Linked DNA regions of Homo sapiens: all the other regions are linked to region 5. The links are contacts of gene promoters, found by promoter capture Hi-C in blood cells and fetal thymus (Javierre and others, 2016). All regions are on one chromosome and are shown on one strand. Each heading gives the region's core, a stretch centred on a gene start or on the middle of the fragment in contact. The rest is flanking DNA. Distances are from core to core; before and after follow the strand shown.

Region 1 (3,554 bases), core at 773-3,272, 490 kb before region 5:
GACTACAGGCATGTGACACCATTCCTGGCTATTTTTTACATTTTTTGTGGAGACAAGGTCTATGTTGGCCAGGCTGGTCACGAGTCCCTCGTCCCCAGGGATCTTCCTGCCTAAGCCTCCCACAATGCTGGGACGGTGCCTGGTCTGAGGATATTTCTTACCACTGTGTTTCAGCTTTTCCTCATCTGAATCAAACATTTGAATTCTTTCTAGAAGGTATTTATTTTATTCTATTACCCTTTTGTTGATGAAATGGAAAAGTTTGAAAGCTAAAGTTTGAAAGTTATAATGATGTTAGTAATGGCCTAGATCACGCACAAACCTTTAATCCCGTCTAAAGTTTCTGGGCAAGCCTCCTTCCCTCTTTGTGCTTATAGTACCTATACAGGCCTCTGGTGGCTGTATGGGGATTGCCTTTTAAATTTTGCTTCAGGGCTCATTTGTGACCTTTCATCAGCTTTATTGCTGCTACCTTTTCACTATTTTAGTAGAAAAGATCCATTTCATCACTGAATTTTAGCATATGTAAACAAGTGGAAAATAATTCTTTGATTAATTTATAACACAATACATGCTTTGAATATCTTTGGAAGTGTGTGCTAGAACTTGTTAACTGTGGTTACCTCAGAAGTGGAGCTGGGGAAAGGTATGGGGGTGAGATTTACTTTTTAAAACTTTAACTTGGTCCTATGTGAATGTTTTACTTGTTTAATAAACAATGAATAAATAATAGTTGAGTAGAAGAGATGGAAAATTACACAAACTTTTGCTTACTTAACAAGCCACTTACCTAACTAGTATTTTTAAATGACATCTAAAAGAAATGGGATTCAAATGAGGTCTCCACTATGTAACCAAATTGTCATTATTACTTTAATGAGTTTTCTATTTAAACTCTTTATTTTTTTTATGTTAGTGGAGAGTTTTAGGAAGCTAATAAAATTGACTTCTTTTATACAGGTATGTCATAGCACTTAATTTAAAGAGAATATTTTTAAGAAAGAACAAAACCTTGTTAGTAAGCCCTCTAGAAATAAGTACTTTATGTGCCTAGAGTGCCATCTCTTTCGTGGTACTTAGGATCACAGTGTGGGTGGGTGAGTTTGACCTAAATATCAGGCATTCATACAGGGTTCTTTTTCTTGATACATATATATGTGTATTTTTTTTCTTTCCCTCGAATCTTAGAAATCATTAATACTGATGAGTTAAGGGAGCAGAGTAAGAGCTGCATAGGAGGAATACTCTTAGAAATAGGCTATGAAAAAGAAAAACTGTGAATTGACTTGTGAATAAATGTTAATAAAATTAATCAGATGACACTCATCTGTTGCCATTACTTCAGTCATAAAAACGAGGAAGATAGATCCAGAAATAGAGTGTGATGTCATAGGTCTTTGTTTATTCCTGTCCTAAGCACTCCAAGAAATTTTGAGATTTTGGCTTCATTGCTTAATCTTTATGCTTTACTACTTTGGCACCACGCAAGCAAATCTGAAGGCCACTTGCTTGCTGTGTTAATTTAAAAATCTGCTAAATTCTCTGTTTTGATTTTAAAAAAGACAACTCCGTTAAAAAAAAAAATCCAGCCCAACAGTAACAGGCTTAAATTTGGAGCATTAAAAAAAAACCGTTAAGGTGGTGACGTTTGAACATACGAACTTTGATTTTACTGAAAGGGAATTAGGTTCAGAGGTTAATCAGGTGACTCACGGTCACTTTTGGGGCAGAATTTGGGACTTAATTTAACTCAGTGCTGAATTGTAGTTTATGACTTGGCAGTCCTTTTATTAATACAAAATCCCTAAGTGACTGTATATTTATTCCTGAAGTTAATGAAGTTTAAAGAAAGATTCTAGTTTTTAAAAAGAAGATTTTATTTTTTTAGTAACAGCATTGGTACTTTTTTTTTTTTGAGACAGAATTTTACTCTTGTCCACAGGCAGGCAGTGCAATGGTGCTATCTCGGCTCACTGCAGTCTGTGCCACCTGGGTTCAAGTGATTCTGTGCCTCAGCCTCCCAATTAGCTGGGATTACAAGCGCCTGCCACCAGGGCCAGCTAATTTTTGTATTTTTAGTAGAGACTGGGTTTCGCCATGTTGGCCAGGCTGGTCTCCAACTCCTGACCTCAGGTGATCTGCCGGCCTCAGCCTCCCAAAGTGCTGGGATTATAAGTGTGAGCCACCGCACCCGGCCAGCATTGGTACTTTTAAACTCTTGCACATTGTAGAAACTTTCCCTTAAAGGTAGTTTATCTGATAGGCTTTTATACTATATCAAATACCAAAACTTCTATTTTAAGCCTTTTTTGTCTTCTCTCACTTCAAGTTGTCTTTAAAACTACCCTGCCTTAACTCCTTAATTCCCCTTAACATAAGACATGTGTAACCTAAAAACCCATTCACCAGTTCATGTTTGCTAAGTCCAGCCATTCTCATTGGAAAATATATTTGTCTTATTCTTATGATTATCTATGATACAACACTATTTCTGGATCTGTTTTCATTGTCTTCATGATTTGAAATCATGGTCTAGAAATAATTATTTCATCTTCATATCAGTTTTTTTTTTTTTTTTTTTTTTTTTTTGAGACAAGGTCTTGGTCTGTCGCCCAGGCTGGAGTGCAGTGGCACCATCTTGGCTCACTGCAACGTCTGCCTCCGAGGCTCAAGCGATTCTTCTGCCTCAGCCTCCCGAGTAGCTGGGACTATAGGCACGCACCACTACACCGGGCTAATTTTTGTATTAGTAGAGACGGGGTTTCACCATGTTGGCCAGGCAGGTCTCAAATTCCTGACCTCAAGTGATCTGTCCGCCTCAGCCTCCCAAAGTGCTAGGATTACAGGCGGGAGCCACCGCGCCCACCTTTGTATCAGTTTTTGTGTCATAAAAAAATGAGTGCGTCGGCTGGGCTCAGTGGCTCACACCTGTAATCTCAGCACTTTGGGAGGCCGAAGTGGGTGGATCACGAGGTCAGGAGTTCGAGACCAGCCTGACCAACATGGTGAAACCCTGTCTCTACTAAAAATACACAAAAAATTTGTCAGGCGTGGTGGTGTGCGCCTGTAATCCCAGCTACTCAGGAGGCCGAGGCAGGAGAATTGCTCGAACCCAGGAGGTGGAGGTTACAGTGAGCCAAGATTGTGCCACTGCACTGCAGCCAGGGCGACAGGGAGGCTCTGTCTCAAAAAAACAAAAAAAACAAAACAAAACAAAAAAAAGAATGCCTCTTGTTAGAGGACTGATGCGTATAGTTGATGTATCATTGGTCCTTTGAAATACGTAATTAGGTGAACTTAGTTTAAGAATATTTAAGTATGTTCACTTGTGATAAAATCTCTTTTTATAAAATGAGTCTGTGGTTTTATTACTGGATTTCTCTTTAAGTAAACTTAAAAATTCCAAAGTTAAATATTTAGGTATATGGCAATAAAATAATTTACCTCTTTCCTCTTTTACCTAATAGGTGGCCAGCATCGAAATGTTCAGCCTTTTAGTGATGAAGATGCATCAATTGAAACAATGAGCCATTGCAGTGGTTATAGCGATCCTT
Region 2 (3,948 bases), core at 258-2,757, 510 kb before region 5:
GCTATTTGCAATGGAGTAGTTAAGAGGCAGTGACAGGTAGATCTAAGGTACTGGAATGAAGAATGAAGAAATAAATGAACTTGAGAAATACTTAGGAAATTAAATGGGCATGGCTTGGTGACTGAAGAGGAAATAGGATGAAGGATAAAAGATGACTCCTGGGGGTCTCACTTGGGTGGCTGGCAAGATGAGGGTGACACTGTTAGTGGCTTAGCTATCATCTGCTTATGAGGTGGCTTATCGAAGGTAAGGAAGCTTAACCTTCAGACTCCTTTCCTTGCATGAAGCCATTCAAAGGCTCTGGGAAGGGCCCTAGCAAATTTTGTATACTTGAATCTGTATTCTTTTTCTTAAACAGAGCCCCTACCCTTTTAAAGCTGGTATTAGCTTCAGACACACAAAACCTGAATCCACCCTGCCCGTCCCCTTTCAAGTCATCTTTCTTATTACCAGTAGATTAATCTTCCTCAAAACAAAACGTTGACATCATGTCAATCCTCTTCTCAAAAGCTATTGTCATCATGACAACAGACTTTATTAACTTGACAGTTTTACTTTGGGGTGGCCCTTTACTGCCTCTAAAATTCATCTCCCTACAAATCTTTCTAGTTCAGAAAAGTAACTTTGACCTGTCTGTCCAAAAGCAGGAAAATAATTTACAAATGTTTGAACTCTTTGGTTCTTAGACCTATCTACCAATTGAGTTGCCTTAGTTGCAATTACTCCGTTGTACTTTCTTGTTTGTCTCCCATATTCTTGCTTTGTTTTTATCCCAATTGTGGCTTTTTCTACTTTAAAACACTTGCCTAATCTCAAACCTGGCTATTCAGTTGTGTTTGGCATGTCTTGTACCTAAAGAAACCACTGGCCTATGCACACATCACTCTGTATCATAGTCGTTGGGCACATCCAGCATGTGATTACACTTTAGAATTCTGTTTTTGGTCACGTTAAGTCAAAGGCAATTTGCACTCTAGAATGTTCATTCAGATGTATAAATCTTTGAACATCAGTTATTCAATAGTTCCAATATTTGGAACACAGCATGCTGTCATCTGCAGTCACAGAGGTGTGCTGGACCATTCTCACATCTGAAAGAAGAGTTGTCTTTGTTGTTCACCACATTGCCACCTGATAAATGGCTTCTAAGGATTTTCCTGCAATCTGAACAGCTGCTACTCTGTGTATGAAAAATCTAATTTTACTTTGTAAGATTTCTTCCCATAATGTCCCGTCTGCTTCAACAGATTCTCACTCAGACACACTAAAATGGGACTCATGATATCAATTTAATATTTTAGCAATTTCAATAAACAAGGCATATTCTTTTTTCTTTCGGGATAAGGCAGGCCTAGCATCTTCCTAAAAAAGAATATACTCTGCAACCTCATGTTACAAAAATTGCAGCTTGGTTAAGTTTTCTATTGATAGTCCTTCAGTTTTTCTTATAAGAGCATAACTCATGAGAAAAGTTGTTATATAAATAAAATATAGAATGTTACTATTAGAAGACACTTCTGAGCCATAGAGCATAGTGCTGATGTTTCAGTCAGCACTTTCTCATCTCCCTTCTTCTCAGCTTCTTCCTACTTCTTTATCCTCTCCATGTCTGTTCCATGTTGGCAGATACAAATCAGAGGTATGGTGGGGTTGACAGCACCTGCAGAGCCCTAAGGGCTTCTTCTCTTGGATAAAAGGACTTGGAGCTGCCCACTCTCATTCCACAGAGGGAGTTAGGAGCCAAGGAAAGCAAAAAATTGTAATCAGCAACGTAGAAAAGATGCAACCTGAGGCAGGTGAAGGATTTGGGAGCCCAATTCTTTTTTAGGAAAATGCTGTTTTCTATATCATAATTCCCTTCTGTTATCCCAAGCCTCCTGATTGTTGTGGTACTTCAGGGATTCAGGGATGGGCATGTGTCAGTGCCGGGAATACAGCAGATAGGGAAGCCTGGCAACAATCTGGAAGGTGGTTCTGAGATGGCCAGGGGTGGCCTGCTGAAGACTGGAGCAGCAGTCTAGCTCTTAGCTGAAGGGACAAGCAGTAGCTAGGGAAGATGTGTGGAACAGGTAAGCATTCCTTGGGGATTTTCAGAAGCACTTAGGAAGGAGAACCTGGTAAAAGTCTAAACTTCCTTTTCATCACAAATGACATGAGCCCTGATTTTTGTTGCCCTGGGAACACTAGAAAATAGAGAAGTCTTTCACATCTGGCCTACCCAAAATAAACCTTCGTGAGCCCATGTCCAGGAATGGGGCTAATTCTCTGCTTCTCTTCCACACATATGTTCACTCCTAACTACTTTTCATCCCCTTTCTATCTCTGTTCATTTTGGGGTTGACCAAGTGGGTGGACTAGACTAAAGGGAGCCAGAAGGATCACCTACTGCAGTTTGCTACTCCGCCAGAAGTGGCCTGGGGTACTCATACAGCCTGGGGCCTGATGTAGAAGATTCTCCCAGCATCATGTTTCACCTAGGTCAGCACCGTGTTCCCCAGCTAATTGATACAGAAGCTCCCCAAAGGCCAGTGAGAGTGGAAGGACCATTCCTTTGAGCTCCTCCTTTCTTCTTCTTTCTTGCCTCATCCTTCTCCTCCCCTCCCTCCCACCTTCTTTTCTTCATGTGTCCTTGATCCTAGAACATTTTCTGCTTATTATTTTTCGAGCGTATTGCTGTTACTACCAGTATCCTGTGTATCCTGTTGTGGCCAGAAAGCTACTGACACCATTAGTGCTTTACAGGGCACAAAGGGAGCTAAGGAAGCTTAAGGCTAGACTAGGAGGTTTCTGTCTTGCTCTTTTGGCTAGAAATTATTATACGAAGACATATACTATTGTTTTAACTATATGTCATATTATATATTTTGAATTAAGATTGATTGGTCTCAATATATAAATATGTGGTAACAAAATTCAAATTTGATAATTCAGCATAACAGTTCAGGACTTTTTCCTCCTCTTGAGAAACAGGACTCTGCTACTACCTATGGAGTCTACTCTCTTATCTGTGTTGGAGAACATGAATGACATGCATCAGTTTGGAATATTTTAGGTGAAATCACCTAGAAGCCAGGTTTTGGATGAGGTGTGGTATGATCATTTAACTTTAGACTCACAGCCGCAGTTCACCCTCCCACCACCTATTCCTTATATCTATGCAGTCCTCCTTCCCATCCTATTGCAATACTGGGAGGGAAACATCCAGGGCAGTAGGAAACTCCCTTGTCCCAACCTCCATAATCTGTTTCTCCACTATCTGCATTGATGACCAAAGGTCATAGGGGTTACTCTCTCTGCCTAAATGAGTGGAAGCAGAAATGTCACAGTTATGAAAGTAGTATTCGAATTAAAGAAAGGGGCTACCAAGTATTCTGTCTATTCATTACGATCTTTTTGGAAACTCCTTTATATGGAAACTCCAGTCATCTGAGGCCTCAATTCCTAGAAAGCAAGCATCTCCACATTCTGTCCTTGATATAGATGTACTTGTTCATAAATATTTTGTCCATTTTGGCGTCATCTACATCCTATGTGCTCAATACATATTTACTAAACAAACAAGTGATTCTTGCTGCCTTTAATAGTGTTGTGTTGGCGGTATGAACACAATTTAATGCTAGACGATATTAGTCATCAGGCCAGCCATTTAGCCACATCCTCTTATTGCCTACTCCTATAATTACATGATAAATATGGGAGCATGAATGCCCAAGGACTTTACATATCCTATTTTCTTATATTCATTTGTTTTGAGCATCAAAAATCAGTTATTGTGGCCTACTGTGTACTGGGCATTGTAACTGTAAGTGGTACAGAGTGTACAGTTTTTAGAATTCTCACTATAGTGTGGTAAGAAATTATCTTAATTTTTCATTCATTTATTGGTTCATTCAACAACCATGTGTCAGGATCTGTGTTAGATGCTAAGGAGACAACAGTGAACACCAC
Region 3 (3,430 bases), core at 2-2,501, 480 kb after region 5:
TGGATAAATTATGATACATTCACAGTAATATTTGATAGTTTGAAGAATGGGTGCAAATATGTAATAACGAATTTAAAATTTTTAATTTCTTTACTTTTTCTTTATTTCACAGTGGGTATTCACAGGTGGGATTATAGCATATTACATCCCTTAACTCCTGAGCTCAAGCCATCTTCCTGCCTCAGCCTCTTGTGTAGCTGGGACTGCAGGCACACCCCACCACACTAGGCTAAAAAATTTGTTAATGTTTATTAATCATCCTAAGTTGAAAATATCTAGACTTCTGGGACACCATTAGGAATAATGTACTAAAGCCTGGAATACGTAACAGTGGCTTTGAGGATGTTGACCTCTTACCGTTAGTTTTGTCTATTCCTGAAAAATAATTCAAAGGCGATTCTTTAAAATTAAATGGGGTTGGCTAATATTGATTATTAATGGGAGAAAGAGGAGGGAAAGGTGGGTAGAATGGGTTTCTTTGTAGTCTGACTTATTAGAGGGGAAACTCTTGGAACCAGTGAATGATTTGCATGCACAGTTTCTCGTGATCTAGGCAAAGAAGGAAAGGACAGCTAGCATGTCAATTCTATGACGCTGCAATTTGGAAAAAGAAAGGATGATATGCTAAGATTTAACTAATATATTGTAAATTCAGATCTTTCAGCCAAATGTTTTCTCAGTAATAAAAGTGTCAATTAGGTATGTTTTTTTTTTTACACAGATTGAATTTTTGACCACTTTATTTTATTTGCTCTCTTTATTCCAGTGTAAAATTCCAGAAATGAGGGTATATTCCAGGTGGGTGAACTGCACAGTACTTATTGTATAGTTCTCCTTGTTTAATAAAAAGTAAACTTTTTAAAAGGTACTGAAAGTTTTTTGTATATCAAGAAAATTAGCCGGGCATGGTGGCTTACGCATGTAATCCTAGCACTTTGGGAGGCCCAGTTGGACGGATCACTTGAGGTCAGGATTTCAAGACCAGCCTGGTCAACATGGTGAAACCCCATCTCTTTTAAAAATACAAATTTTAGCCAGGCATGGTGGCACATGCCTGTGATCCCAGCTACTCGGGAGGCTGAAGCAGGAGAATCATTGAACCTGGGAAGCGGAGGCTGCAGTGAGCTGAGATCATGCCACTGCACTCCAGCCTGGGCGCGACAGAGTAAGACTCTGTCAAATAAAGAAAAAGAAAAAGAAAATTAGCCCCTTGTTTTGCCAATATTTGCTCTCACTTTCTAAGTTTGTCTTTTGACAATTTATAATTTTTTTGCTTTGCAGAGTTTCTAAGGTATCATTTTCTCAGGCTATATTCAGGTATATAAAAAATTAAAAATAACATTTTCCTTCATTTCTGAGTACTTCAATTTTGTTCATATTCTTGGCATTCCTCCAGCCCTTCCTCTGTTTCACGTGATAACAGGTGAACTGCATTCACTCCAGTGTAATTCCATCCATTTCAAGTTTAAACAAGGTCAACTCAGGATTTCCTCTACTCCTCTACCTCTATTTCTCCCTGGGGATACTGTAAATTCTGGGTGTTCTCTGAGGGTCATGGTGTTGGGGGAATATGATTGGTCCCTCAGCTGGGTTCTGCTCCTGTTTGCATCTGCTGAGCTGGCCATTACACCCACCGATGATTGGCCTCACTAAAATGGCTGTGTTCCCCAACCCCGTGGCAGCCACCTGCTGGTTTCCTATTGTTACAACCATCTGCTGCCATCTGCTGGTGTATGCTCTTGTTACAACCAATGAGATCTCTTCAGGTCCCATAGGTCTCTCTCAGAACTTACAGCTGTGTACTTTTCAGGGTAATTTCATCTTCTCCTCCGTTGCTCTCTGGAGCTACAGGAAATTGGTGGGATTGCCTCAGCTCTCCTACTTCATCTTCACTGGTCCCATGATGCTGTGATGCCAGTCGCAACTCCTGTGAAGGACCTTCCCTCCTGGTGTTCCAGACAAGGATGGGGTACAAGTCTCCTGTCACTCTTAGATCCCCAAACCTCCTTCTCCTACCTTTGAGAAAATTTTTATTTCCTTTTAGATAGACTAAAACTGGCTCAGAGTTATCTCCCATAATTTTTTGGTATTTAAATTGGGCCACAGAAAGGCCAAGAACCTGACATAATTATCTTTGACTAACATGAGGTGTCTCTTCACTTTGTATCAATGAAGACTAGGTTCAGTTCTCATGCTTAAGTTAATACTGTAGAGAAGTCAAAGGGAACATAGGAAATAATCTGCCTGCTCATAATTGATATCATTATCATTCTGTACCCATGTTTACATAGTGGGATTTATCTGGCCTCCTGCTGCTGCTTCTGGTTTATGCCACAGTTATTTATTCTGAGGCCTTTTTTACCTAAAGATTTTGCAGAATTTCAACATATTTTCTTCTAGTACTTTTATAGACTCAATATTTTAAACATTTAAATCTTTGACTAGCATGGTATTTATGTTGCAGTGAGATGGGAATGCAGCTTATTAATTTCTCAAAATGACACAGCTACATAGCAGTTTGGATTTCTTGGAGGAAGATTAAGCCTGAAGAACTACTCAGAGATGCCGAAAATATTCATTAATTTTATGACTGGACCTATGAACCTGTCTTTAGAGACAGAGAATTTGCTCTCGACTTTGACTGCCTATCAGAACACCTGGGAGCTTTAAAAAAAATATTGATAACTGGTTCTCAACTCCTCCTGTAATTGCTCTGGGGCATGTCATGATTACAAAAATCTTCCTGGATGATTCCAGTACACAATCAAGGTTGAAAACTTGCCCATGCACAGTCAAGATTGTTTTTAGGGCAAAAGAGAGCGTGAGTGAGACCCATGTGATACCTATTTTCCCATGGAGTAATGTGGAGTGTGCATCCCAACACCCACAGGTCTTGTTGAAACCCAGCTTGCTGGACCCCTCTCTCAGGGTTACTGATTCCCTAGGTCTGATGTCATGCCTAAGAAATTTATTTATTTGATCCTTTTATTTGGACAGAAATTATCAGCAGTCACATTTATACTGGTACCTATCATTTCCCCATTGGAATTTTAAAAGATTGTAAATGAAAACAATTCTATATGCAGAACTTATTTATGTATACTCATTCTTGTTTAAGAGATGATTTAAGGGGAAATAAAATAAAATATAAAAAGGAAAGGTGAGAAAATTTGAACATATGTAAAATAATACTTGAAAAGATAAAATCAAAAGGATAATATACATATATACATAAGCTGATGTTGGACCATACATTTGGCTAAGTTTTCTAGCAGTGAACATTAAGCAGAGAAAGAAAATCACTGTAAGATTTATAATGTGCCCTTGATAAAACTAAGCCAGTAGCTTCAGATAAAAATGCTTACTTTGTCCTGGCATTAGAGGAAAATCTTCTCTGTGTTCTTATAAATATGATTCTATACAACATTGG
Region 4 (3,804 bases), core at 141-2,640, 390 kb before region 5:
CTGGTTATTCTGGTTAACAGCTCCTGTAATGTTTTATCATTGTTCTCAGCTTCTTTGCATTGGGTTAGACTATAGTTCTTCAGCTCACTGAAGTTTGTTATTACCCACCTTCTGAAGCCTACTTCTGTCAGTTCATCAATCTTAGCCTCAGCCCAGCTCGTGCCCTTGCTAGAGAGGTATTGCAGTCATTTGGAGGAGAAGAGGCACTCCGGCTTTCCAAGTTTTCAGCGTTTTTGCATTGATTTTTTCTCATCTTTGTGAACTTTGAGGCTACTGACCTTTGGATGGTTTTTTTGTGGGGTCTTTTTCATTTTGTTGTTGTTGCTTTCTATTTATTTTTCTTTTAATAGTCAGACTCCTCTTCCATAGAGCTGCTGTGGTTTCCTGGGGGTCCACTCCTGACCCTATTCACCTAGGTCATTCCACACCTGGAGGTGTCACCAGTGGAGGCTGCGGAACAGCAAAGATGGCTGCCTGCTCCTTCCTTTGGGAGCTCCATCCCAGAGAGGCACCGACCTGATGCTGGTGGGAACACTCTTTTATAAGGTGTCTGGCGACCCCTGTTGGGAGGGGTCTCACACAGTCAGGAGACACAGGATCAAGACCCGCTTAATAAAGCACTCTGGCTGCCCCTTGGCAGAGTGGACGCACTGCACTGTAGGGAACCCCCCTTGTCCGGGCTGCCTGGATTCTTCAGAGTCAGCAGGCAGGAAAGACTAAATCCCCTGAACCATGGAGATTTCGGCCACTCCTCCCCGCAGGGGCTCAGTCCTAGGGAGATCAGCGTTCTGTCCGTAAACATCTGGCTGGAGTTGCTGAAATTCCCACAGGGAGGCCCTGCTTGGTGAGGAGAAATGGATCCGGGTCTCACCTAACGAAGCAGTCTGGCCGTGGTCTGCCACAGCCGTACCGTGGGGAATTCCTCCCAGTGCAAATCATCCGGTCTCCCTGGCACCGGCAGGGGAGAACGGCCGACTGGAGCTGCAGGGATGGCGGCTGTCCCCACCCCCTACCCAACCAACTTGGGTGTGTCTTAGGCAGTCTCCAGTGTGCTGCCACTGGCCGCAACCTGAGCGGCTACCTAATGTCTGCACAGTTCTGTGCTTGGGACCCAAGGCCCTGGTGGCGTGGGCTCACGGAGGGGATCTCCTGATCGCAGGTTGCACAGATCCATGGAAAAAGCATGTTTTCCTGGGTGGGGTAGAACAATCACTCACCGCCTCCCTTGGCTGGGGTTGGGAGTTCCCTTTGCCCTGTGCAGCTCCCGGGTGGGCCTTTGCTCCACTCTGCTTTTCCTCGTTCTCTGTGGGTCATGCCAACCGCCTCATCAGTCCCAATAAGAGAATCTGCATACCTCAGCTGAAGGTGCAGGATCCACTCACCATTTTTGTTCTCCTTAGTGGGAGCCGTGGTTCACAGTGGCTTCTAGTCGGCCATCTTGGTCCCTCCATAGGATTTTAGAATCAAAACTTTTAAAATAAGTAACAGACATAGGACATAAAATTCAAAAAGTGAAAAAAGGGTATGCCATAAAAATTAAGTCACTTCCCCAGAGATAAACCTCTTGATGGTTTGTGTTTCCAGATAGTCTATCATAGGATAGGTTTTGAGCAAACGTTTTATCAAAATGAACAACTCAGCCAGGCATGGTGGCTCACACCTGTAATCCCAGCACTTTGGGAGACCAATGCAGGAAGATGGCTTGAGGCCAGGAGTTCAAGACCTGCCTGGGCAATATAGCCACCCACAGTCTCTACAAAAAATAGTACAGCTAAGCAAGCAATTATGTAGTGTTGCATGCCTGTGGCCAGCTACTCAGGAGGGTGAGGTGGGAAGATTGTTTCAGCCTGGGAGGTTGAAGCTGCAGTGAGCTGTGATAGCGCTACTGTACTCTAGCCTGGTTGAGTGAGACCCTCAAAAATAAATAAATATATAAACACTTCCATTTCCTTCATACCCAGTGAGTTGCTTGTTATATAGTAAGTATTCTCTAAATGCTAATCATAGGAAACTGATGAATCATTTAGAAAGTTTTATAAAAATAATTTTTCCAAGTTAAAATTTCTCTTTGTTTACTACATAATACCAAAAACAATGTGAAATTAAGTAGTGATCTAAAAAAGGCAAATAGAGGTGTATGTAGTTTGAAATTGTTTTATTGCTTTAAAGCCCTCAATATCCAGATGATGAAAGCAACATTTCAGATTAGTAAAGAGAAATGTAGATTATTTAGCAAATGGTATTGGTACAATTGAGTAACCACCTGGAAACAAAACCAAAGTGGATCCACAGTTTACACTTTACATAAAAATACCTTCAGATGATTCAAGTATTTTTATATAAAAAATAAAACTATAAAGGTTTTAGAAGAAAACATGAGAAGAAACTTGCTGGTGGGGAGAAATGAGTGAAGGAAACTTTTTCATGATAGACTTTTTTTGTACTTTATGAATGCTGTACTATGTACATGTATCAACTAGTCAAATATTTTAAAAATAAAATTGAATAATTAAGTTAAATAAGGATATTGTTTTTGTCAGAATATTCAAGTCTAATTTGTACTTCAAATACTTAGTATTAACTAATTTCTTTCCAACTTCATTTCTGCTGTAACAACAAAACCTGAACATGGCAGTGAATATGAGACCCCCTTGCTCTTGCTGCTTTCTGAACGAAGAAATTGGGGAAAATAGTTGCATGGTAGGAGGAATTACTGGAAATGAGAAATAAAACACATTGGATAATATTGTGAAATATGTACTTGTACTCTCCTCACTACTTCACTTTCCATGAGGATTTTTACGTGCTTTATAATATAATATTTTGAGAGAATGACCACATCTTTGGGTTTTCTGATTGGTAAATCTGTTCTAATCTGTGTAATTCACAAATATAAGAAGCTTGATAGAAAACGAGCTTGCTTTGTCTATTTTGTTCTTCCTATTTCAGGCTTTAGCTGACTAAAATGAAGATATCATAATGCAAGCACCAGATGTGACTAGAAAGTTGATAGAATTTAGAGCCAAGAAGAGCTCTAATCTTTGCTTTAGACTTGATTATTATCAACATATTTAAGGAGTTTGCTTTTGGAGGAGTGAAGTGATCCCACAAATTCCAAGCAGATAATTATAAAAACTTGTTAAATAATTAAAAAACTATTTAAAGATATTAGAAAGTATTGAAAAGCAGCTGAAAGACAGACAAAAGTTTAATCTCTGAACCAGAAGGGGTAAGAATTGTGAGTTTGTCTAATCCCCAGAATAACAACTGAGGAAAACTACAAAACATTGCTTAGATACATTTTATAAAATTACAATAAATGGAAAGATATACTGAATTTATGAATTGGAAGATGCAATAGAATTAAAATGTCAGTTAACCTCATTTATAGATTTAATAAAATCTCGCATATCCCAGGAGGCATTTTCCTTAATGGAAATTAACAAGCTGATTCTAAAATTTATATTGAAGTGCACACTACCCAGAAGAGCCAAAATAATTTTGAAAAAGAATAAAGTTAGACTCACAGTAACTGATTTCAAGATTTACTATAAAGTTGCTATAATCCAAATAGTTTCATTGGTGTAAGGATAGACATATAAACCAGAGAGTTCAGAAATAGACCGGTATGTAAACGGTCAAGTGATTGTTGACAAATGTGTTTCAGCAAATGCTGAAGCTATTAGATATCCATATGTAAAAATATCATTACCTCACGCCATGTAATTTTTTTTTTTTTTTTTTTTTTTTTAGAGATAGGGTCTCACTCTGTCACCCAGGCTGGAGTGCAGTAGCACAATCAAG
Region 5 (3,780 bases), core at 15-2,514:
ATGAGAACCAGTGGAAAGCTTTCCTCATTTCGATACTCAGGAGAAGTCTCTCTCCCAAGCCTATGAAAACAGAATTTTCACTGTCAAAATCTTATAAAACAGCTGTGTACAAAAGCCTATATTTAAAGATATCAAGGATAACTGTAGACTCCAACTATAAACACTCTTCAGGCACAGGCAAAAGCCACTAAGGCTTCTTCCCCTATGAGCTTCCACAGAGGGGGTTCTCACCGGAACCCCATCCATGGAAGCCGAGGGTGGGCTTTATCGGCAGGTGTCTTTAGGAGGCTTCCAATACAAACGGTATTTTCAGAACCTGCCCAGATCTCTTCCTCATCGCCTAAATAAACAGTTAAGACCAAGTATTTAAGAAATGGGAGTGGGGGCCACGAGTGTAGCCCGCCCCCTTTTAACAATGTGAAGTCCAGTCAGCTAAAAGGCCTGCTGGCTTCCCAGCCCTGGAAGCCAATGCGAGGAAGGCTCGGCATGGTTGTAGGAATGAAGTACTAGGAAGGGGGTCTGATAAGGAAGCAAATGGTACAGCCGGTAGGTCAAGCGTAAAGGAGGGACAACTCAGGTTTCTTTTCGTCTTTTACAAATGGATTTTACCTGTCTTGTTTTACCTCGGCGTCTCTTGCAAAAAGCGACCCCCACCTCCTCTGTGAGCGTGTATGTGTTTGTGTGTGCCGAGACAACAACCTCAGCACCCCGGCTGGGGACAGGGGCTTGGAGGGGGTGGGGACTCAATTCCTTTACAGGCCTAGAACTCTCCCGAAGGGCCCTCAAAGAAAAGGGGGCGGGGAGGAGCGCGTCTGATGCCGACTAGGGGGCTCAGACCAGGCCCGGGAGAGCAGCAGCGGCTGGGGGGACGTGCAGATCCTTTACATTTTAATGGTGGCCTCTTTGGAGGAGGGAAGAGGTGACAAGCGGTTGGGGGTGATGAGGCCTCCCCTTCCTCCCTCACTCAGCGCGCTGTTTACCTTCTCGGTACTTCTTGCGGAGCCGCCGGTGGACGCTCTTCACCACACCGGAGAGCTTCTCCTGCTCCAGTTTCCGCTCCTGCTCCCGGGGCGGCGGAGTGTTCGGGGACCCGGCCCTCTGCGCACGAGCAGTATTTCGGCCGCCGGCCCCTGGCTCCATATCGCAGCCGCCGCCGCCGCCGCCGCCCCTCAGGCCCCCGCAGACGCTCCCCAGATGGAGGAGGTGGGGTAGGAGGAGGGAGCTGCGGAGGCAGCAGCCAGAGGAGGCAGAGGAACCGGAGCGACAGCCTTGGAGGTGGACCCTCACCCAAAAGTGCAAACTGATTGGTGGATTTTGAGGGCTGGGCGGAAACGGAAAAGGCTAAGGGCCAATGGGCAGAAAGCGCCGGCGGCGAACCCGGTTGTTTGGGAAGGCGAGCAGCTGGAGGAGGCGGAGCTTGCGGGGATAGGGAGGCTGAGGCAGTGGGAGCTCCAGGCCTGGGTGCTCATCTCTTCCCCACCCTCCCCGGATTCTGTGCGCAGGCGCTGTGGCTCGGCCTCGGGAGACGAGCTGTGAGCAACGCGCTTGCGCGTCTCAGTTTGCTTAGTTTGGGCTTTTTTACAGCTCGGCTTTCTGATGTCTTCCATCATTTTCATCCCCTACACTTTATAATCTGTTGCGATGCGGCCAGGGTGCTCTGCTTGAACCTCCGCTGCACCTTGTCACATGTAGGTTCCCTTTAGTTACTTGCGCTTTGAGATGACGTTACACTTCAGGGACCTCAAGCACACAAGCATTCTAAGGCTCAAGGAGAGGTCTGGCTACCAAATGCTAATTTAATTCTCAGGTCGACAATGGTTTATGCCTGCAGTACTACTGCTGGGCAAAGGACATAGAAAATGCGAAAAGGAGAGGGCCAAGAAAAGCAACAGGAGATGCAGGAGGACAATAAGGAACGATGGAAAACTCACAGCAGATGCCCTCAAGAACTTTTGTAGTGACCACGGTGTTAATAAGCAGCCTTCCCTGATCTTATTCGCATCAGCACTCTGAGCTTTTATGGTCAGCTCAGGTGACCTCCTGTCCTTTAATTTGGAGAGTTAGTCTATGCGGAGTGTATCTAAGTGGGTTTGGTAACCTGTTCACCCTCCTCCACTTCTTTTCCATCTCTTGGGGAACGCGATTGTTGACTTCTGTCCCAGAAAGGTGGAACACTGCTCTCTGGAGAGAGGTAGACTGCATTGGCTCCTGAAGTGGTACTGAGGCTGCTGGAGTGTCAGAGATTGAATAGACTGAGAGCCCCTAATGAGTTGTGTTGGATTGTGTACCACTTCCCCATTGCAGGTGTTGGTTACGTGACAGTCTATGGAAATGATTGCAATGGTAACATTTTGATAATGATTTTCTAACTACGAATAAAGCTTGCATTATGTAACTGTTTTATATGCTACCTTCTTTATATTGAATACGCTGAAGAGCAAAGAATTATACACACTGTCTAGGACACAGGAGAAGCGGGAGGTGAAGGGAGATTGATGGAATTTAAAGGCGGAAGATGTGTCCCTACAGCACAGTGAAGAGACAGATCAAACACAAAGACAAGGACATATAAACTTCAAAAGAACTCCTTATAATTATGAAGAGAAGTTAAGCGGAAGTGCCTAATAAATTGAAAATATGGTGGTCTTATTTGGGGGAATTTCATTTGGGAAGAAAGGGGAGCTTGAATTACATGTCTCTTTTGGCTCTTTCCATATTTTAATACATATGGAAGGCAAATAATGGTGCAGATATTCGAAAGATACAATGATAGTAAAAAGAGCATTAAATTTCACTTGTGCTGAACTGTAGTTTTATTTTTTAAAAAAGAACTTTTCAGCATAATACTAGCAAATGAACTTTTAAGGCCTCTTAACTGAAGATGTTCACTGAAGGAAATTTGGAAAATACAGAAAAGAGTAAAGAAAATAAGACATCTGGACTGAGAGATAACAACTTAACATTTTTTCTTTGTTTGTATATACTAATTTCAAATAGGATATTTCTTGATGCCTATGTGGCAATCTATTGTATGAATAGCCTACTATTTCATTAACCAATTCCCAGTTATTGTAGATTTATGTTTTTTCCAGCTTTTTTGTATTACAGATAATGTCATGACAAACACATTTGCACACAAGTATTTGTCCATTTCTTTAATTATACATTCCATCAGGCTAAATTCCTAAAAGTTCAATTTCTGAAGCAAAGGGTCAAACATGTTAGGGTTTTGATGTATATTATGAAATTGCCTTTTCTGAAAGATAGTAGCAGTTTATGCCATGTCCACTAGTACCTATGGGTGTTTATTTCATTGCACCCTTACCAAAGGTAGGTATTACAATTTACAAAGTCATTAATGAGATTTTAAAAACATGTCTATTTTTTAAATAAATATGTGGAATTTCCTGCTGTTTCGTAACTAGCTATTCTTATTGGTATAATATTTAACTTAAAATACCAACGTAAGAATAAATAAAAGGAACTTATTTAAGACTATCTAGTTGTTGTTGTTCAAGCAGATTGAAGAGTCCTACCTTTTAAAATTACTTTTTGACTTCACACTTTCTTGAAAAGCAACCGAAGAAATAACAATTGGACAGCCAGATTTTATTTTAAAGAAAATGAAATCTTTTTATTTTCTTTAAATTTTTTATTTAAAAAATGTTTTATTTAAAATTTTCATTTAAAAAATTTTAAATTTTTTATTATAAAATAAAGATTTTATTTTAAAAATAAAAATAAGATTTATTTTATTTTATTTTATTTTATTTTATTTTA
Region 6 (3,760 bases), core at 515-3,014, 470 kb before region 5:
CGCTTAAAACGATGAAGATTTCTCGTTTCGAAAGGGTAGGTTTTGTTTTTATTTTTAATAAAACTAAGTGCGCCAAAGCTTTGATTCTGTCTAGTGTCAGCAACTTAGCTGTGTCTACCTATATGTGGAGTTTTAGTTTTTCATGATGCTTCACATAGAATAGCTGTACTAAAGATACAGAAAGCATTTAGAGTGTGGGGGGCGTGTGTGTGTGTGTGTGTGTGTGTGTGTGTGTGTGTGTATATATGTGTCAGCCTGGGTGACACGAGTGGGACCTTGTCTCAAAAGCAAAACAGAGAAAAGAATATTGCTGCTTGTTTGCCCATTAGGTGTATTTCTTTCATTTTATGAAACATATTTTGACAACACGTTAAAATTTAATATGTACATATATATTTTACGTATAATTCTATCTTAATATAGGAACGGTGTTCATTATTTGTTTCTTTTTATTCTTTGGAGTTTTTATGTTTAAGAATAAGTATTTACATAGTCCTTTTGTATCAGATAATAGCCTGCTAAGTGAAGTACCAGACTCGTTTTACAAATGAGGAAACTTAAGAGAGTTAAATAGTAATTAATATCATTTTTACTTAACATTTCTTTTTTTTTTTTTGAGATGGAATCTTGCTCTGTCACTCAGACTGGAGTGCAGTGGTGCAATCTCGGCTCACTGCAACCTCTGCCTCCCAGGTTCAAGTGATTATCCTGCCTCAGCCTCCTGAATAGCTGAGATTACAGGTGTGCATTACCACACCTGGCTAGTTTTTGTATTTTTAGTAGAGACAGGGTTTTGCCATGTTGGCCAGGCTAGTCTCGAACTCCTGACCTCAGGTGATCCACCCACTTTGGCCTCCCAAAGTGCTGGGATTACAGGCATGAGCCACCATGACCAGCCTGCATTTCAAAAATCCTTAATTTATGTATTTTTTTTTGTGCTGAGATGAAATTCATATAACAGACTATTTTAAAGTATACAGTTCAGTGGCACTTATTACATTCATGATGTTGTACAACTCTAGTTCCAAAACATTATCACCTCAAAAGAAAACCTTCTGTTCATTAGCAGTCACTTCCCTTGTGCTACCCCCCGCCACTGGCAACCGCTAATCTGCTGTCTCTGGATTTACTTTTTCTGGAGATTTCATACAAATGGAGTTATATAGCATGCAACCTTTTGTGTCTGGCTTTTTTCATTTAGCATAATGCTTTGGAGGTTCATTCATGTTGTAGCATGAATTCAGAGAGCTTTATTCTTTTTTGTGGCAGAATAATATTCCATTGTATGGATATATATCACATTTTGTTTATCCATTTTAACAGTTGATGGACATTTGGGCTGTTTGCATCTTTTGGCCGTTGTGAATAGTGTTGCTCTGAACATTCACATACAAAATTTTTTTTGAAAGGCTCTTTGCAATTTTGGGAGGTATTACCTAGGAGTGGAATTGTGCTGGGTCAGATGATAGTTTTACATTTAACTTTCTCAGAAACCACCAAACTCTTTTCCATAGCTGCTGCACCAGTTTACATTCTCATCAGCAATGTAGAAAGAAAGGTTCCAGTTTCTCCACATCCTCACTAATAATTATTTTAATTATAGCCATTCTGGTGGGTGTGAAGTGTTTAATTACATTTTATAGAACCTGGATATTTTATCAGTTTTATATCCACATAATTGTTTCTTGTACGGCATTTTAAGTTTTTTTTAAGAAACATTAATATTTTTACATACTTCTCTCTTTTGAATAATTTTTTTGAAGAAATCCCCTGCATAATGTATTGCCAAATTACTTTCCAAAGTTACTCTTATATTGGAGACGATATTTAAATTGTCTCCAGCAATGAATGAAGGCATGTAGCTGTTACACAAAGATTTGACACCATTGAGTTTTATAATTTAAAAAATGTGTTTATTTAATTGATATTAAAATGGCACTTCATCACTTTTTTCCTTGTTCTAATTGACAGCCAAGTAGGACTATTTTCTGCATTAGTCATGATTTGTCTTTTCTTGGATGAAACAATGTTGATGTCCATTTTTCACTGTTGGTTTTTGAAATCGTCTAACTTTCTTGGCGTTTTACAATTTGATTAGTACTTTTCTTAATATGGAATAGCCATTAACTCTTTATTTATTTATTTTTTTTGAGACGGAGTCTCGTTCTGTTGCCCAGGCTGGAGTGCAGTGGCGTGATCTCGGCTCACTGCAACCTCTGCCTCTCGGGTTCAAACGATTCTCCTGCCTCAGCCTCCCGAGTAGCTGGGACTACAGGCATGTGCCACCATGCCTGGCTAATTTTTTGTATTTTTAGTAGAGACGGGATTTCACCGTGTTAGCCAGGATGGTCTCAATCTCCTGACCTCGTGATTCGCCCACCTCGGCCTCCCAGAGTGCTGGGATTACAGGTGTGAGCCACCTTGCATGGCCCCTGTTAACTCTTTGTTTTTCTCCTTCATTCTTTGTGTGTGTTTTATAAACATTTAAATGTTTATAGGGTCAAATTAGTTCATTTCTTTTCTTTGTGACTTTTACCCTTTTTCTGTTTTGTAAGAATATCTTAAGTCTTACTGATGCACGTTTTTCCTTTTTTTCATTTTAGCATTTATATAACTCTGCAGCCTTCAAAGCTCGAACCAAAGCTAGAAGCAAATGTCGAGATAAGAGAGCAGATGTTGGAGAATTCTTCTAGATTTTCAGAACTTGAAGACTATTTTCTAATTTCTATTTTTTTTTCTATTTCAATGTATTTAAACTCTAGACACAGTTTTTATCCTGGATTAACTTAGATAACTTTTGTAGCAGTGGTTATATTGCTTATAATTTAATGTACAATACTATTGAAACTGGTGAGTTCTGATTATTAAATATTCTCTGTAAATCAGTAAACATGTATAAAGTATTTGTAATGTTTGGTCATAATTTATTTATGAAGACAGCAAAAGACTGATTTCATGATGGGGAAAACAATTAGCCAAAGTTTAATTTCTTACACTGTGGTTGTCAAGAATACTGATTTACTATAATGATATATACATGCAAGATATTTAACTTAATATCTTAGACAAGAGTTCTGGGTACAATTTTGGGATCTAGTTCCCCTGGAAAAGCTGCTGTATTTTTAATTTTTAATGGAATGTAGCTTTTAAAATCCTGTCACTGGCATCAACAAAAGGAATTATACCATGAGACCTTATAGCTGTACTTAAAAGCCATTCAGTTCAGCTATTGGGAGTTCATGATGAATTAGCATATGCCAGAAAGGTTGCTAACCTTAACATCTGAGAGCAGTAACACTGATTTTATCTGCTGTATGAGACTTTGTGCATTTTACTTTGAAATAAAGATTTTTTTCCACACTGAAAGTGCTTCTCTTCTAATAGAAGAAATATTATTTATGGCTTTGAGGTACAGAGTCCAAAATGACTAGGCCAGGTGGGCAGGGAGACAAAGCTTTATGTGTATATTTACAAACATTAAAGTAGATGAAAAGAATGTAGCAATACATAATTGGGATTAAGGTTTCTGACTTTCAAGAATATTTCTGCTTGGCAACATGCAGTGTGGCTCATGCCTATAATCAGCACTCTGGGGAGGCTGAGGCGGGAGGATGGCATGAGCCCAGTTTGAGACCAGCCTGGGCAACATAGCGAGACCCTGTCTCTACCAGAAATTTAAAAAATGAGTGTGGTGGTGTGTGCTTCTACTCTTTATCTACTTGGGTGCTGAGGCAAGAGGGTAACTTGAGCCCAGGAGGTC
Region 7 (3,958 bases), core at 284-2,783, 440 kb before region 5:
GGATATTCTTTCTAATCCCTTCATTTCAACATCCCTCCTGCATGTATCCAGTCTTCTCAAACAGACCCTCTAAAATGTTTTTGGTTTTGCTTCCTCAAGGAGTCCTACCCTAATATTTTCAGGCACCAGATGGACTTTGGAGTCAGGTGAACTGGATTAGAATCTCAGTTCTGATTCTTAAAAGCTGTGTGGCCTGGGAAGGAAACTTAACCTCTTTCTCAGTTCCTTCCTCTCTGAAAATGAGGGTGATAACATTGACCCTATAGTGGTTGAAAGGAGATCACGTGTTTGTGAAACACTTAGCATAACTCCTGGTTCACAGTCAGCATTCCACTGGGCTGTAACCACCACGAGGGTAGAGACCATGTCTCTCTTTTTCATCCTTGAAACCTTAGTGCCTAGCAGTGTCTGGCAGACAGAAGGCTTTTTGAATAAATGAGTAAAGAAACAGTAGCTTTTAGGAATGTATTTATATACATATGTATTTCCTACAGTTTCCTCCTTATTAAAATTGCTTGGGGATAAGAAACCTCTAATTTTCCTAGGCTTTCTCTTATTTGCAAATGCATCTGTTTACTCCTCAAAGGTGGATTGTGGATTCTTCATGAAGAAGAATGATTTAACCTGGAAAGATTAGAGATGTCAGTTGACCAGGGAAAGCTTTTCTTAACTTATAGTGACCTTTGTGGAGGAATCCATTGCTTAGTGGACTCTGATGATGCAGCTCGTCCAGTCAAGGTCCACTCTCCTTGACTTTGCAGCTGCTGTCCTGGGGAAGGATGATGAGGGGGAGCTCAGTCAGCAGGTGAGACAGAAAGGGGGTCTTGCAGGAAAAGGAGGTGAATAGATTGTCCTTGTTCTTGCTTTACTCTCTACTCAAATTTGTCTGGTTTTTGTTTGTTTTGTTTTGTTTTCAGATGTAGGACAAAAGAGACATTTTGCTGGTAGTGGTGCAATTCTTTTTTTTTTTTTTTTTTTTTTTTTTGAGATGGAGATCGCAGTGGTGCGATCTCGGCTCACTGGAACCTCTGTCTACTGGGTTTAAGCTATTCTCCTGCCTCAGCCTCCCCAGTAGCTGGGATTATAGGCACCTGCCACCACGCCTGGCTAATTTTTTTGTATTTTTAGTAGAGACAGGGTTTCACCATGTTGGCCAGGCTGGTCTTGAACTCCTAACGTCAAGTGATCTGCCTGTCTTGGCCTCCCAAAGTGCTGGGATTACAGGCATGAGCCACTGCGCCTGGCCTGTGGTGGAATTCTTTACAGTCTGAATTTAGTGCAGGATCAGCTATGTGATTTGTGGAGCCCAGTGCAAAATGAAAATGCAGTGCAGGCCCCGTGTTTATAAATTCTTAATAATTTCAAGATGGCAATAGCAGAATATTAAACCAAGCACAGTGTCCTCTGCAACTGCACAGGCTGACAACCGAAGAAACTGCTCTAGTTTAGAGATTTGACAGACAAGAAAGTCTGTGTGTTCCTGACATTTTCTGCAGTGTTCAGCTCAATTCCTGACTTACGAAGTTTAGAAAAAGAAATACCCAGCCAGTAAGTCCTCTCTTCTTCATAAAGCTCTGCTATGTTCCCTGTGATTTACACCGTCTTGGTCTTTTGGTTTGTTTTGCCCAAGACCCTGAACGTCTTTGCATTATGGTTTCTCCAGGTTTAATTCTTTTTTTGTTGTTGTTTTTTTTTGAGACGGGGTCTTGACCTGTCACCCAGGCTGGAGTGAAATGGTGCTATCATAGCTCACTGAAACCTTGACCTCCTGGGCTCAAGTAATCCTTCTGCCTCAACCTCCCAAGTAGCTGAGACTACAGGTGTGTGACACCATTCCTGAATAATTTTTTAAAAGTTTTTTTGTAGGAATGGGGTCTTGCTTTGTTGCCCAGGCTGGTCTCAAACTCCGGGGCTCAAGTGATCCTCCCGCCTCAGCGTCCTAAAGTGCTGGGATTACAGGTGTGAGCCATTGCGCCACTGGGCTGTGCCACCACTCCGGGTTTAGTTTTTTTGTCTGCCTGCTCTCATCCTTTTTGTTAGAAATTTGAATGTGCACTACATTCTTTCATTCCTACATTCTTTCTTCTTTGCATTTGTTGTCCTTTAAACAGATTTTCCATCTTTAATTCATTTACATTTTTTTTAAACTGTCCTTCTACGGTCATTTTAGTTTTCTCTGGATGCCTTCCAATTTTCATTTTTTCCTCAGCAAATAAAGTGTTTAAAATGGAGTGTGGTGATCTAGGAGCCATGGATGTGAAGGCAGAGCTTAGGCTGCCTTGATCTTAGGAGACCCAGCTTATAACTGGATGGTTCGCTAACCCCCCAGCAACTGTTATGCTCTAAATTAGACCCACTCTTTTCTCATGGTTGGCTTCTGACCCAGTATACTTGGCATTTCCTTTTTCAAGCTTTTCCTACATCCATTTTGTATCAGCTTCCTAGGTGTAGTTTTACTTCCAATTATTTTAGCACTCACCTTTAGTTGAATCTTGATTGATTTTTGACTATTTATTTTCTTTGGCTCCATACCAACTTATTCTTTGGTCTTAATTTTTGACCTAAGAAAAGAAAGTCCACCCATATTGGGTCAGATATTTAGCCCAGGATTCTGCTTTTGGCAGTCAAGGATATTTTATGGATGAATATGGTGGTTTTCCATAGTTCATCTGAGTGATTAGAAATTAAAAACACATCATGGATCTATAGCATATGATATTAAATTCTTCCTCATAGCTGTTTATTTCTGTATTTTATTATAATTTTTGGCTTTCTGACTTCCCTCTCTTTCCCTTCTCTTCTCTATTGCCTCAGTCTGTAATTTCTAAAGCAGGTTTTGTGCCTTCAAGACTATTGCCTGGGATTGGGTAATCAAACTAAACAAAGCATTGGAAAATCTATATCTATAAAGAAACAGAATTGTTGTTTATTCCTTGTAAAAAAAAAAAAAAGCAAACTCAAAATCTACTAAAAGAATGGGAGTTGCTTCACAGACCTGTTGGAAGAGAAAAGACATCATTTCTGAGTTTGAATGACTGCCATAGATAGGTATGGATATGAATTTATCATGCTTAATATGAAAGGACAATTAAAACTGTGCCTGATGTCACCCATTTGTGTCTAGATCTTAATGTTCTCAACACTAAATGAACATAAAAATGGAAAAAGTCCTAACAATGATCTTCAGTTCAAATATACTGTTTATCTGGAAATGGTAACATTGCTGAAGTTTTTGGTACTGAAATTTACATTTTTTTCATTGATTAAAGATGTTTGAACAGCTCATTCTCTTAAAAGTAAGTTTTAAAAGTGATCTACATATGTAGTTAATGGCTAACAGCTAATGTATTCTAAATTCTAAAGTGGATTTAGAATAAAGAGCAGAGAGTTTTTCCACTAGGTGGTAGGATTTTGCCATGGTCATGTCTCGAAATGTTGCGAGGAGGAAAAGTAACTTAAGAAGAGTAAAATTAAGATAGAAAGTGACTGTAATAACACCACACATTGATCAAATAGATTTTCTTTCTTGGCACAAACACAGAAATTTACTCCTAATGTATTCTTGAAGTAGGCCTAAAATAAGTTCAAGGATTTTTAATTTTCGGGAAAAAACTGGGCATTAAAAGAACATTTTTAGAGACTTAGTTTGTATTTTATATCCTTTTATACTTGTTGGATTTTCTTTTATCATGTACAAGCTCTGCCAATTCAAAAAATCAGTCTGAAACCTCTGTGAGACCCCAGTTCTCTCTGCTTATAGGATGTCTTCTAGCAAGTACATCATGTCTGCATTTGTCAGAATTTTTTTTTTTTTTTTTTTTGAGATGGAGTCTCACTCTGTTGCCAGGCTGGAGTGCAGTAGCGCAATCTCGGCTCACTGCAACCTCTGCCTCCTGGGTTCAAGCAATTCTCTTGCCTCGGCCTCCCGAGCAGCTGGGACTACAGGCGTGCGCCACCA

The links. The method cuts DNA at HindIII sites, captures the fragments that hold promoters and counts their contacts. A CHiCAGO score of 5 or more calls a contact.
Region 1: a fragment that was not itself captured here is called in contact with the fragment with the promoter of SAMTOR in region 5 in 9 of 17 cell types (naive CD4 T cells, fetal thymus, total CD8 T cells and 6 more); the score reaches 16.2 in naive CD4 T cells.
Region 2: a fragment that was not itself captured here is called in contact with the fragment with the promoter of SAMTOR in region 5 in 4 of 17 cell types (fetal thymus, total CD4 T cells, naive CD8 T cells and 1 more); the score reaches 7.6 in fetal thymus.
Region 3: a contact is called between a fragment that was not itself captured here and the fragment with the promoter of SAMTOR in region 5, in 2 of 17 cell types (M2 macrophages and M1 macrophages). The highest score is 9.2, in M2 macrophages.
Region 4: a contact is called between a fragment that was not itself captured here and the fragment with the promoter of SAMTOR in region 5, in 3 of 17 cell types (neutrophils, naive CD4 T cells and M2 macrophages). The highest score is 6.6, in neutrophils.
Region 6: a contact is called between a fragment that was not itself captured here and the fragment with the promoter of SAMTOR in region 5, in 4 of 17 cell types (total CD4 T cells, erythroblasts, fetal thymus and 1 more). The highest score is 6.2, in total CD4 T cells.
Region 7: a fragment that was not itself captured here is called in contact with the fragment with the promoter of SAMTOR in region 5 in 2 of 17 cell types (M0 macrophages and M1 macrophages); the score reaches 7.5 in M0 macrophages.

What each region holds. Positions count from the first base shown.
Region 1 is chr7:112,452,296-112,455,849 of GRCh38, forward strand. IFRD1 (interferon related developmental regulator 1) reads left to right here. Exons shown (of 12, transcript NM_001550.4): 2 at 3,468-3,554. Among named protein-coding and RNA genes, the nearest start is that of IFRD1, 3.6 kb to the left of the region's middle. The HindIII fragment of the contact is 6,019 bases long and covers 1-3,554 here.
Region 2 is chr7:112,428,411-112,432,358 of GRCh38, forward strand. LOC105375457 (a long non-coding RNA gene) reads right to left here. Exons shown (of 3, transcript XR_001745325.2): 3 at 1-3,948. It also overlaps a transcript of IFRD1 not described here. Among named protein-coding and RNA genes, the nearest start is that of IFRD1, 20 kb to the right of the region's middle. The HindIII fragment of the contact is 2,509 bases long and covers 254-2,762 here.
Region 3 is chr7:113,420,201-113,423,630 of GRCh38, forward strand. No RefSeq gene overlaps it. Among named protein-coding and RNA genes, the nearest start is that of SMIM30, 300 kb to the left of the region's middle. RefSeq lists an enhancer at 1,417-1,939. The HindIII fragment of the contact is 5,117 bases long and covers 1-3,430 here.
Region 4 is chr7:112,546,324-112,550,127 of GRCh38, forward strand. No RefSeq gene overlaps it. Among named protein-coding and RNA genes, the nearest start is that of LSMEM1, 67 kb to the left of the region's middle. The HindIII fragment of the contact is 3,015 bases long and covers 1-2,898 here.
Region 5 is chr7:112,938,611-112,942,390 of GRCh38, forward strand. SAMTOR (S-adenosylmethionine sensor upstream of mTORC1) reads right to left here and starts at 1,265. Exons shown (of 5, transcript NM_152556.3): 1 at 981-1,265. The coding sequence starts at 1,140. RefSeq lists a silencer at 1,094-1,193 and enhancers at 1,223-1,739, 1,394-1,733. The HindIII fragment of the contact is 2,363 bases long and covers 17-2,379 here.
Region 6 is chr7:112,472,827-112,476,586 of GRCh38, forward strand. IFRD1 (interferon related developmental regulator 1) reads left to right here. Exons shown (of 12, transcript NM_001550.4): 11 at 1-35; 12 at 2,604-3,760. The coding sequence ends at 2,693. Among named protein-coding and RNA genes, the nearest start is that of LSMEM1, 6.3 kb to the right of the region's middle. The HindIII fragment of the contact is 3,376 bases long and covers 77-3,452 here.
Region 7 is chr7:112,497,406-112,501,363 of GRCh38, forward strand. No RefSeq gene overlaps it. Among named protein-coding and RNA genes, the nearest start is that of LSMEM1, 18 kb to the left of the region's middle. The HindIII fragment of the contact is 1,751 bases long and covers 659-2,409 here.